Linked DNA regions of Homo sapiens: region 1 is linked to region 2. The links are contacts of gene promoters, found by promoter capture Hi-C in human tissues and cell types (Jung and others, 2019). All regions are on one chromosome and are shown on one strand. Each heading gives the region's core, a stretch centred on a gene start or on the middle of the fragment in contact. The rest is flanking DNA. Distances are from core to core; before and after follow the strand shown. Region 1 overlaps NIPSNAP1 (nipsnap homolog 1). Region 2 holds the start of SEC14L6 (SEC14 like lipid binding 6).

The links. The method cuts DNA at HindIII sites, captures the fragments that hold promoters and counts their contacts. A contact is called where the count stands out against the background at its distance.
Region 1: a contact is called between a fragment that was not itself captured here and the fragment with the promoter of SEC14L6 in region 2, in 1 of the 25 tissues and cell types used here (dorsolateral prefrontal cortex).

What each region holds. Positions count from the first base shown.
Region 1 is chr22:29,567,910-29,572,495 of GRCh38, forward strand. NIPSNAP1 (nipsnap homolog 1) reads right to left here. Exons shown (of 10, transcript NM_003634.4): 2 at 2,496-2,623; 3 at 2,253-2,298; 4 at 1,284-1,378. Among named protein-coding and RNA genes, the nearest start is that of NIPSNAP1, 11 kb to the right of the region's middle. RefSeq lists an enhancer at 1,271-1,565 and a silencer at 3,031-3,325. The HindIII fragment of the contact is 3,498 bases long and covers 1-3,033 here.
Region 2 is chr22:30,545,367-30,550,121 of GRCh38, forward strand. SEC14L6 (SEC14 like lipid binding 6) reads right to left here and starts at 1,375. Exons shown (of 12, transcript NM_001193336.4): 1 at 1,263-1,375. The coding sequence starts at 1,316. The HindIII fragment of the contact is 18,463 bases long and covers 1-4,755 here.

The DNA of each region.
Region 1 (4,586 bases), core at 35-2,534, 980 kb before region 2:
GCTCATGTCTACAATCCTAGCACTTTGGGAGGCCGAGGAGGTAGGATCATTTGAGTTCAGGAATTCAAGACCAGCCTGGGCAACATGGAGAAACCCCGTCTCTACCAAAAAACACAAAAATTAGCCGAGCATGGTGGAGCGCACCTATAGTCCCAGCTACTCAGGAAGCTGAGGTGGGAGTACTGCTTGAGCCTGGGAAATTGAGGCTCGAGTGAGCCAAGATTATGCCACTGCACTCCAGCCTGTGTGACAGAGCAAGACCCTGTCTCAAAAAAAAAAAAAAAAAAAAAAAAGGCCGGGAGTGGTGGCTCACTCCTGTAATCCCAGCACTTTGGGAGGCCGAGGCAGGTGGATCACCTGAGGTCAGAAGTTCGAGACCAGCCTGACCAACATGTGAAACCCCATCTCTACTAAAGATACAAAATTAGCCAGGCCTGGTGGCACAGGCCAGTAATCCCAGCTACTCGGGAAGCTGAGGCAGGAGAATATCTTCAACTCAGGAGGTGGAGGTTGCAGTCAGCCAAGACTGTGCCACTATCTGCCAGCCTGGGTGACAGAGCGAGACCCTGTCTCAAAAAAGAAAAAAGAAAAAAAAAAAAAAGGCCGGGTGCGGTGGCTCACACCTGTAATCCCAGCACTTTGGGAGGCTGAGGCAGGTGGATCACCTGAGATCAGGAGTTCAAGACCAGCCTGACCAACATGGTGAAATCCCGTCTCTACTAAAAATACAAAATTAGCTGGGCGTGGTGGCACATGCCTGTAATCCCAGCTACTCAGGAGGCTGAGACAAGAGAATTGCTTAAACTGGGGAGGCGGAGGTTGCAGTGAGCCGAGATTGCACTACTGCACTCCAGCCTGGGGCAACAAGAGTGAAACTCAGTCTCGGAAAAAAAAAGAATAAAAGACAGTGATCCAGGTAAAGCAGGCAAACAAGAAATAATGCTTAAGGCAGAAGAAAGAGAATGAGCAGTAGTCTGGAACTAAAGAGTGAAACTGTCAATCTGAGGAACTGAGTCCTGGGTGGGACAGCACAGCGAGGCATGGAGGATTTGGTGCCATGAGGCTGGGGGCAGGGCCGGGAAGGAGTCACAGGCTTCACGGGTCACCTTGAGGGCACAGGGGAGCCAGGACAGGTATTTGAGCAGGGGAGTGAGGTGATGAGGTTTTAGTAAGAGCCCCACCAGGTGCTGTTGTGGAGAGGGAGTGGAGAACAGCCAGGTGTGAAAGGTGCTGGAGGCCAGGGCTGGGCAGTGGCAATGGCACTAGGGAGGTGAGCGCCTTACCTGCCTGGTCCTGCTCCCCATACCACGTGTTCCAGTTGCCCACGAGTGAGCATGGGTAGTCCTCATCCAGGTGAAGCTTGGGCAGCACAGCCTCCCTGTGGGGGAGGTGCAGAGAGGGGCAGGGTTCACATAGCCACCAGGGCCTCTGAGATAAGGGTTCAAACTCAGTTCAAACAGACCCTGGGGCTGGGCCTCAGACTCTCCATCTCTAAAATGCAGAAGCTAGGCAAGAGGCCCTCAGGACTTCCGACACTGAAATTTACATCCTGGCTGGGCACAGTGGCTCACACCTGTAATCCCAACACTGGGAGGCTGAGGCAGGAGGATTGCTTGAGCCCAGTAGTTTGAGACCAGCCTGGGAAGCAAAGTGAGATCCCATCTCTCTTTTTTGTGTGTGAGACAGAGTTTTGCTCTTGTTGCCCAGGCTGGAGTGCAATGGCGCAATCTCGGCTCACTGGAACCTCCGCCTCCTGGAGACCATCTCTTAAAAAAAAAAAAAAGAAAGAAAGAAAATGGGGCCAAACGCAGTGGCACATGCCTGTAATCCCAGCACTCGGAGGCCGAGGCAGGTGGATCACCTGAGGTCAGGAGTTTGCGACCAGCCGGACTAACATGGTGAAACCCTGTCTCTACTAAATACAAAAAAATTAGCCATGCTTAGCGGCGCATGCCTGTAATCCGAGCTACTTGGGAGGCTGGAACAGGAGAATCGCTTGTACCTGGGAGGCAGAGGTTGCAGTGAGCCGAGATCGCGCCATTGCACTCCAGCCTGGGCAACGAGAGCAAAACTCCATCTCAAAAAAAAAGAAAGAGAGAAAGAAAGAAAGAAAGAAAAAGGCAGAAATAAAAGAAATCTACATCTCCTGGATTTCTACAGAAAAGAACAGGGTGGAGGATGTTCCGCAAATTTGCTGAAAGTGTGTTCCCCACCCAAGCAGGGGATGGGATGTATGGATGCAGGGTGCTCACGTGAGGCTGTTGTAGGCATCCAGGTATTCAGGCTTTACATTGTGAACTGCAACAGAGGACAGAGAACAAGAAGTGAGGTAGGGTGTGTACACAGGGAAGAACTTGGGGTGAGGGGAGCCCATCAAGGCCAGGGGTCCCAGGACAGCTGAGGACATTCCAGACCCTCCCATCTCCTTCCTGGAGCCTCACAGGCCCCCAGAGCCCCTGAAAGGGCAGAAATTGGTCAGCTCAGCAGCCACTCACACTGGATCTTATAGAGGTTGCTGGTTTCCTTCTTGGACAGCAGGGTGGAGTGGGCATCCTTCCGGGGATCCACTTTGTGAACAAAGAGGGAGCGGAACCAGCTGCCTTCATTGTCCTTGGAATAGAAACTGCAGGACAGAGGAGTTGAGGGGGACGCGCGGAGGTTGGGGGAGCCCCAGCAATTCCATCCACTTGGATGTCCTGCTCCCCTAGACCAGTGACCCACATTTCTGGGAACAGGGCCACGGAGTCCTGTGGCAGCTCCAGACTGTGAAATGCTATTGGAGCCAGCTCCTTTCTACAGATATTCCAGCTGCCCAGTTGGCTTCTTGAAGCTTTGCAGAGCCTCAGGACGCCAGGAGAGGCAGCCCCACCTCCCACTTCTCTCTCTAGCCTCCCTGCCTCCACTTCATCCCCCTTCCAAGAGGTCCTCTACTTGGGTCATATAACTCCAGCCTCTCGCCAAGAGGATCAACCCCAAATCCACCTTGCATCATGCCCAAAGCCCTTGACAACCCAACCTAACTTGTCAGCCTCCCCTCCTGCCCCCTCACCTGTACACCTCACTCTCCAGGTGTGCTCTTCCCTGAACACACCAGGATCTGCTACTCTGTGCTTTCTGTACAAGTTCTGTCCCCTCTAACGAGAAGACTGCTCTCACCGTCCTCCCCAGCACTCTCACAGTGCACTTGGCCCATGTCCCCACCCTGACCCCACACATGGAAAGCCAAATACAAATAAGCTTTGTCCTTGAGGAGCTCATAGTCCACTAGGAGAAATGGGCCTTGGGACACAATTATAGGAGGGGTCTCTGGAAGAGCCCAGGTGAACTAGCCTTAACTCTGCTTCTGGCAACCTGGGCAGACTCTCTACAGAGGAGGAGATGAGCTGGTCAGTCCCCAGGACTGGTTTGGCAGATAGAGGGAGTAAAAGGCACTGCAAAGCAAGATGCATTCACTCATCCAGCCAACACCTGCTCTGCCCATCTCCATAGGATACTGAGAATGAATGAATGAATGATCAATGAATATGATTATGTGCTTTGCCCATGAGCACTGTGGTTAAGGGCAGTGGAGGGTCTGCTGCCAGCTCCTACTGGACCAGAACTGCACTCCCATCCTAAACACATACCCAAGGTCCCAGCAGGAGGCAGGGGTGCTTATTTTGAGACTACCAATCTTCCCGCTCCACAGCCTTGGTGCAGCTTGCAGCCAGGCCTGAAAAGGAAGTCTCCCAATGGAGACAATTCCTAGCCAGGGAGCCTGGCAAGAGGGATCCCTGAGTGGCAGCAAGCCTTATCCCTTTTTTCTTTTTTCTCTTTTGTTTTTTCCAAGTGAGGTCACAGGAAGCCCTATCCTTTCTTTTCTTTTTTTCTTTTCTTTTTTTTTGAGACAGAGTCTTGCTCTTGTTGCTCAGGCTGGAGTGCAGTGGTGCGATCTCGGCTCACTGCAACCTCGGCCTCCCGGGTTCAAGCAATTTTCCTGCCTCAGCCTCCTGAGTAGCTGAGATTACAGGCGCGTACCACCACATCCAGGTAATTTTCGTATTTTTACAATACAAATACTCGGCTGCCCTATCCCTTTTTAAGACTTTTATGTGGTTAGACAAATGTCTTAGGCTGGGTGTGATGGCTCACGCCTGCAATCCCAGCACTTTGGGAGGCCAAGGCAGGCAGATCACCTGAGGTCAGGAGTTCGAGACCAGCCTGCCCAGCATGGCGAAACCCTGTCTCTACTAAAAATACAAAAATCAGCCAGGCGTGGTGGTGTGCACCTGTAATCCCAGCTACTCAGGAGCATGAGGCAGGAGAATTGCTTGAACCTGAGAGGCAGAGGTTGCAGTGAGCCAAGATCGCACCATCACACTCCCGCCTGGGCAACAGAGCGAGAATCCATCTCAAAAAAAAAAAAAAAAAAAAGGACAAATGTCTTGCAAATAAAAAATCAATCAATTTTTTCCAAAATATGGAGCAGCCATTGGGACGGATAAAATCAGCTGGGCACGATGGCTAAATGCCTGTAATCCCAGTACTTTGGGAGGCTGAGGTCAGAGGATCACTTGAGCCCAGGAGTTCAAGATCAGCCTGGGCAA
Region 2 (4,755 bases), core at 125-2,624:
TCCAAAGACTCAGTATCCCCTCAAAACACTCATTTTTTTTTTTTTTGAAACAGGGTCTAGCTCTGTTGCCCAGGCTGGAGTGCAGTGGCACGATGTTGGCTCACCGCAGTCTCGACCTCCTAGGCTCAATCCATCCTCCCACCTCAGCCTCCCGAGTAGCTGGGACTACAGGCATGGGCCACCACACCCAGCTATTTGTTGTTGTTGTTGTTGTTTTTAGAGATGGGGTCTCCCTATGTTGCTAATTTTTTAATTTTTTGTAAAGATGTGTTCTTGCTATGTTGCCAGAACTCCTGGGCTCCAGTGATCCTCCCGCCTCAAAGTGCGGGGATTATAGGCCCGAGCTACTGCACCAGACCAGTTGTTTTTATATTGATTAGATTATATATTGAAGTTAATACATCATTAAACTTTACTTCAATTGTTTCTTTTTAGGTTTTTTTTGTTTTGTTTTGTTTTGTTTTTGTTTTTGTTTTGTTTTTGAGACATAGTCTTGCTCTGTCTCCCAGGCTGGAGTGCAGTGGCAGAATCTTGGCCCACTGCAACCTCCACCTCCTGGGTTCAAACGATTCTCCTGCCACAGGGTTTCACCCTGTTGCCCAGGCTGGTCTCAAACTCCTGACCTCAAATGATCCATCCACCTCAGCCTCCCAAAGTGTTGGGATTACAGGCATGAGCCACAGCGCCCAGCCTCTTTTTAGTTCTTTAATGGAGCTACTAGAAAATTTCAAAAAGGCCGGGCATGGTGGCTCATGCCTGTAATCCCAGCACTCTGGGAGGCCAAGGTGGGTGGATCACCTGAGATCAGGAATTCCAGACCAGCCTGACCAACGTGGTTAAAACCCCATCTCTACTAACATACAAAAATTAGCCAGGCGTGGTAGCAGGTGCCTGTAATCCCAGCTACTCCGGAGGCTAGGGCAGGAGAATTGCTTGAACCCAGAAGGCAGAAGTTGCAGTGAGCCAAGATTGTGCCGTTGTACTCCAACCTGGGCAACAAGAGCGAAACTCCGTCTCAAAAAAAAAAAAAAAAAAAAAAAGGAAGAAAGAAAATTTCAAATGACCTATGTGGCTTGCGTTTGTGGTGGCGTGGTATTTCTATTGGTTAGTGCTGGTGTAGCCTCTGGCTACCAAGCCCCTCAGGGTTGGGAAGAGACCCAGAGCTGGAGAGTTCAGAAGAAACTCAGGGACCTTGAGTCCTGCCCTTCCCCGTGGCAGAAGGAGAAACTGAGGCTGGTGTAGGAGTCTCTCCCTTCACTCACCTGGGCCAGCGACTTCTCCTGCGATGGGCTCAGGTCACCCACTTGTCCACTCATGCTGCCCATGAATGGGTCCAGGCTCCACTCTGTGGCTCCCTCCAGGTGGCCTGCCTTTTGCCAGCTGGTAGCCATGCCCACATTTATCACCACCCAGAAATCCCACTACTTCCTGTGAGCCTCAGGGCAACAGGTGGGGCTCATTCCTTACTAGGTGCCTCAGGCATGGGGCCCTGGATTCAGCCTGCCCTGGGTTCACATCCTCACTTGCAAAATTAGGACAGCGATGTTTCCTCGGAGCGTTGATGACATGTTGAAATTGACACCACCTGATTTCACACACACACGGAGGCGGCTGTTCACCCTGCCTCTCAGTCCCCTACCCTCTACTCCTGTGGTCCCATCGGATGCCTCTTTGAGCCAGGAGAAGTCATCTCTCACCCCCAACAGAGGCCCGGAAGTCACTGTCATCATGCCTTCACTCTCATCCCAGGCTTCATCTACCACCTGACATGTCCAGAGCAACTGCCCATGATTCATCCCAGATGTTAAGGCACATGGCTTCAGGGTTGAGGATGAAACTTCCCAGGCCCAGACCCAAACAGGTGGATTTGCAATCCTGAGCTGGGCCACACTTGGCCTGGGAGCCAGGATGAGAGGTGAGGAGGGACTCCTGGCTACATCTGCCCCCACCACCCACTGGACAAGCAGAAAGCCAGAGCCCAAGGTGAGGACACATGAGATCACGCGGTGTGCACGGGGCCTGGAACACAGTAGTTATTTGTAGTAGTCTGGGTTGCCCTGAAACAAGGAGTTCAGGGCAAGTTTATTAGGGAGGTGTCCTGAGAAACACAAGTAGGGAAGTGTGGAAATGAGACAGAGAACGGAAGGCAGCTGTATAGGCCTGGTTATCAAGGAAGTACAGAAGAGCTCAATCCCAGTGGGGACTTCTGGGAGACAGCAGGGAACCTGCCCATCAGCGTTTCCTTGCCTGAGTGGGGAGGGAGCTGGGGTATTTATGCAGCATCTCGGGACAGTCTTCAGTTGAGGGCTGCTCCAGGGGCTGTCAATTCTGCTGGCACTGCTGGCCTGCTGTGCACACAATTCAGAAGGCTGGAGAGCGTACTTAGGCAGAGAAACACAGGTGCTGCTGCTGGGGAGTAGTGAGGCTGAGGTGATACAGGCAGAACATCACCAGCTTTAGCTCTAATCAGAAACCGTTTGCTGGGCTCCATGTCAAGTTCTAGTCCAAAGGCTTCATGTGCTCCTTGAGCCCCAGACTGTTCTTCCCTACCTGACAGAGCCTGGAAGAGGGAAGCAGCATGCCTGGGGCCATACAGCCATGTAGTAAGTGACAATCAGGACTATCTGGACCTGGTGCTTACTCAGGACATTGTATCCCACATGCCTGGCTCCTGCCAGAGGCATGCACATAGGTGGCCTTACTAAGTCCCAGGAGAGTCCCCCTTAGCCCTGGAAGAGGGCAATGAGCAGATCTGCCTCTTCTACAGGGTGGGGCCTCCCCAGTACCCCACACACTGCAGGCTGGAGCTTGAGCCATAAGGGGTAAAATCAGGAACTCTCCCCTACTCTTGTCTCCTCCCACTGGGTCCCTGCTCCCAGCACCTCTGGCCCATCTTCTTCTTCTTCTTCCTTATTTTTATGTATTTATTTTTTGAGACAGAGTCTTCTTGCTCTGTGGCCCAGGCTGGAGGGCAGTGGCTCACTGCAACCTCCTCCTCCCAGGTTCAAGCAATTCTCCTGTCTCAGCCTCCCGAGTATCTGGGATTACAGGCGCACGCCACCACACATGGTTAATTTTTGTATTTTTAGTAGAGACAGGGTTTCACCTTGTTGGCCAGGCTGGTCTTGAACTCTCGACCTCAAGAGATCTGCCCACCTTAGCCTCCCAAAGTGCTGGGATTACAGGAGTGAGCCATCGCACCCAGCCTTGGCCCATCTTCTTCAAGCTGGCTTCTGAGTAAGTCCCTCCTCTGCTCCAAAGCCTCCCTGGGCTCCTTGTTACCCTCAGTTAAAAACTGTAGATGCCTTCGCCTAGACTCAAGGCCCTTTTGGGTCCCTCCTGAGCTAATTTCCCCTTCCTTTCTCCCTTATCCCAGGTCCCTTGCCTCCTCTCCATTCTCTTTCCAGCTTTTTCTTTTGCTGTTCCCTCTTCCTGGAATGCCTTTCTTGCAACACCCTGTATTCAGCCTCTGCCTCCCACAAGGCCTACTTCAAATGCCTTCTCTTTGGCAATGTCCTTTCTGATGTGTTTTTTGTTGTTGTTGTTGTTGCTGGGAAGCAAATCCCCAGCCCCCTAAAATCCCACACCCCACTGTCGTCTTCTATCCTTCCAGCAATTGTGATATGTCACAGGTCTCCCTCTTGGGCTCCTTGAGGGTCTGGTTCATTATGGTACACTCCCACTCCAGCACCCACTGTGGTGCATTGTACACAGTAGGTGCTCAATAAAAGCTCACCACGCCTGTAACCCCAGCACTTTGGGAGGTCGTGGGCGGATCACCTGAGGTCGGGAGTTCGAGACCAGCCTGGCCAAACGGTGAAACCCCGTCTCCACCAAAAATACAAAAATTAGCCAGGCGTGGTGGTGCACACCTGTAATCTAAGCTACTCAGGAGGCTGAAGGAGAAGTGCTTTAACTCAAGAGGTGGAGGTTGCAGTGAGCTGAGGTCGTGCCATTGCACTCCAGCCTGAGCGACAGAACGAGACTCTGTCTAAAAAAAAAAAAAAAAAAGATTCACCAAAGGTAGTCTGGCAATGGAAGCTGGGATGCCCCAGAGCAAGCATCACCCAGGATCCCTGACTCTACCTGTCACTGTCAAAACTACCTGGTCTGTGCCCCATTCCAGTGTCACACGGGTTTTCACCCACTGAACTCATTCCAGTGCACGTCTGCATTGGGTAATGTGCTGTCTTTGCCAGGGAAATGGGGCCCCTGTCAGTTACAAATAGGCTCTGGAAGGCCCTCCGCCCTCTCTCCTTCTCCCTTCCCCCCTTCATGTCCCCCCTCCTTCTTGTCTTCCTTCCTTTCTATTTTTAATCTTGTGTTCCTCTGTCTTTCAACATTTATTAAAAGCCTACTGTGTGCCAGGCACTGGCCTAGCCCTGGAGGCCAATTGTGCCAATGCGTCCTGGTCCCTGTCCCAGAGGAGCCCACTCCAGGGGGCTCGCAAATCAGCAGTTGCATCCTGAGTGGGCAGAGCCCAGATGGGGAAAGAAAGAGAAAAAGAAATAAAAGAAAGGGCGAGTCTGCTGGAGAGAGGCCAGGTGGGGATCCAGGCAAGGTGGAGAGGCTGGACCTAGCGCAGAGGTGGGGCGTAGAGAGTCTGTTAATTTCCTGGGGCTGTCATAACAAAGTGCCACAAACTGCTGGGTGGCTTAAAACAACGGGAAATGTATCCTTTCACAGGTCTGGAGGCCGGATGTCTGAAATCAAGGGATTGGCGGAGCTGGGTTTCCTCTGAGACTGGGTAGAACC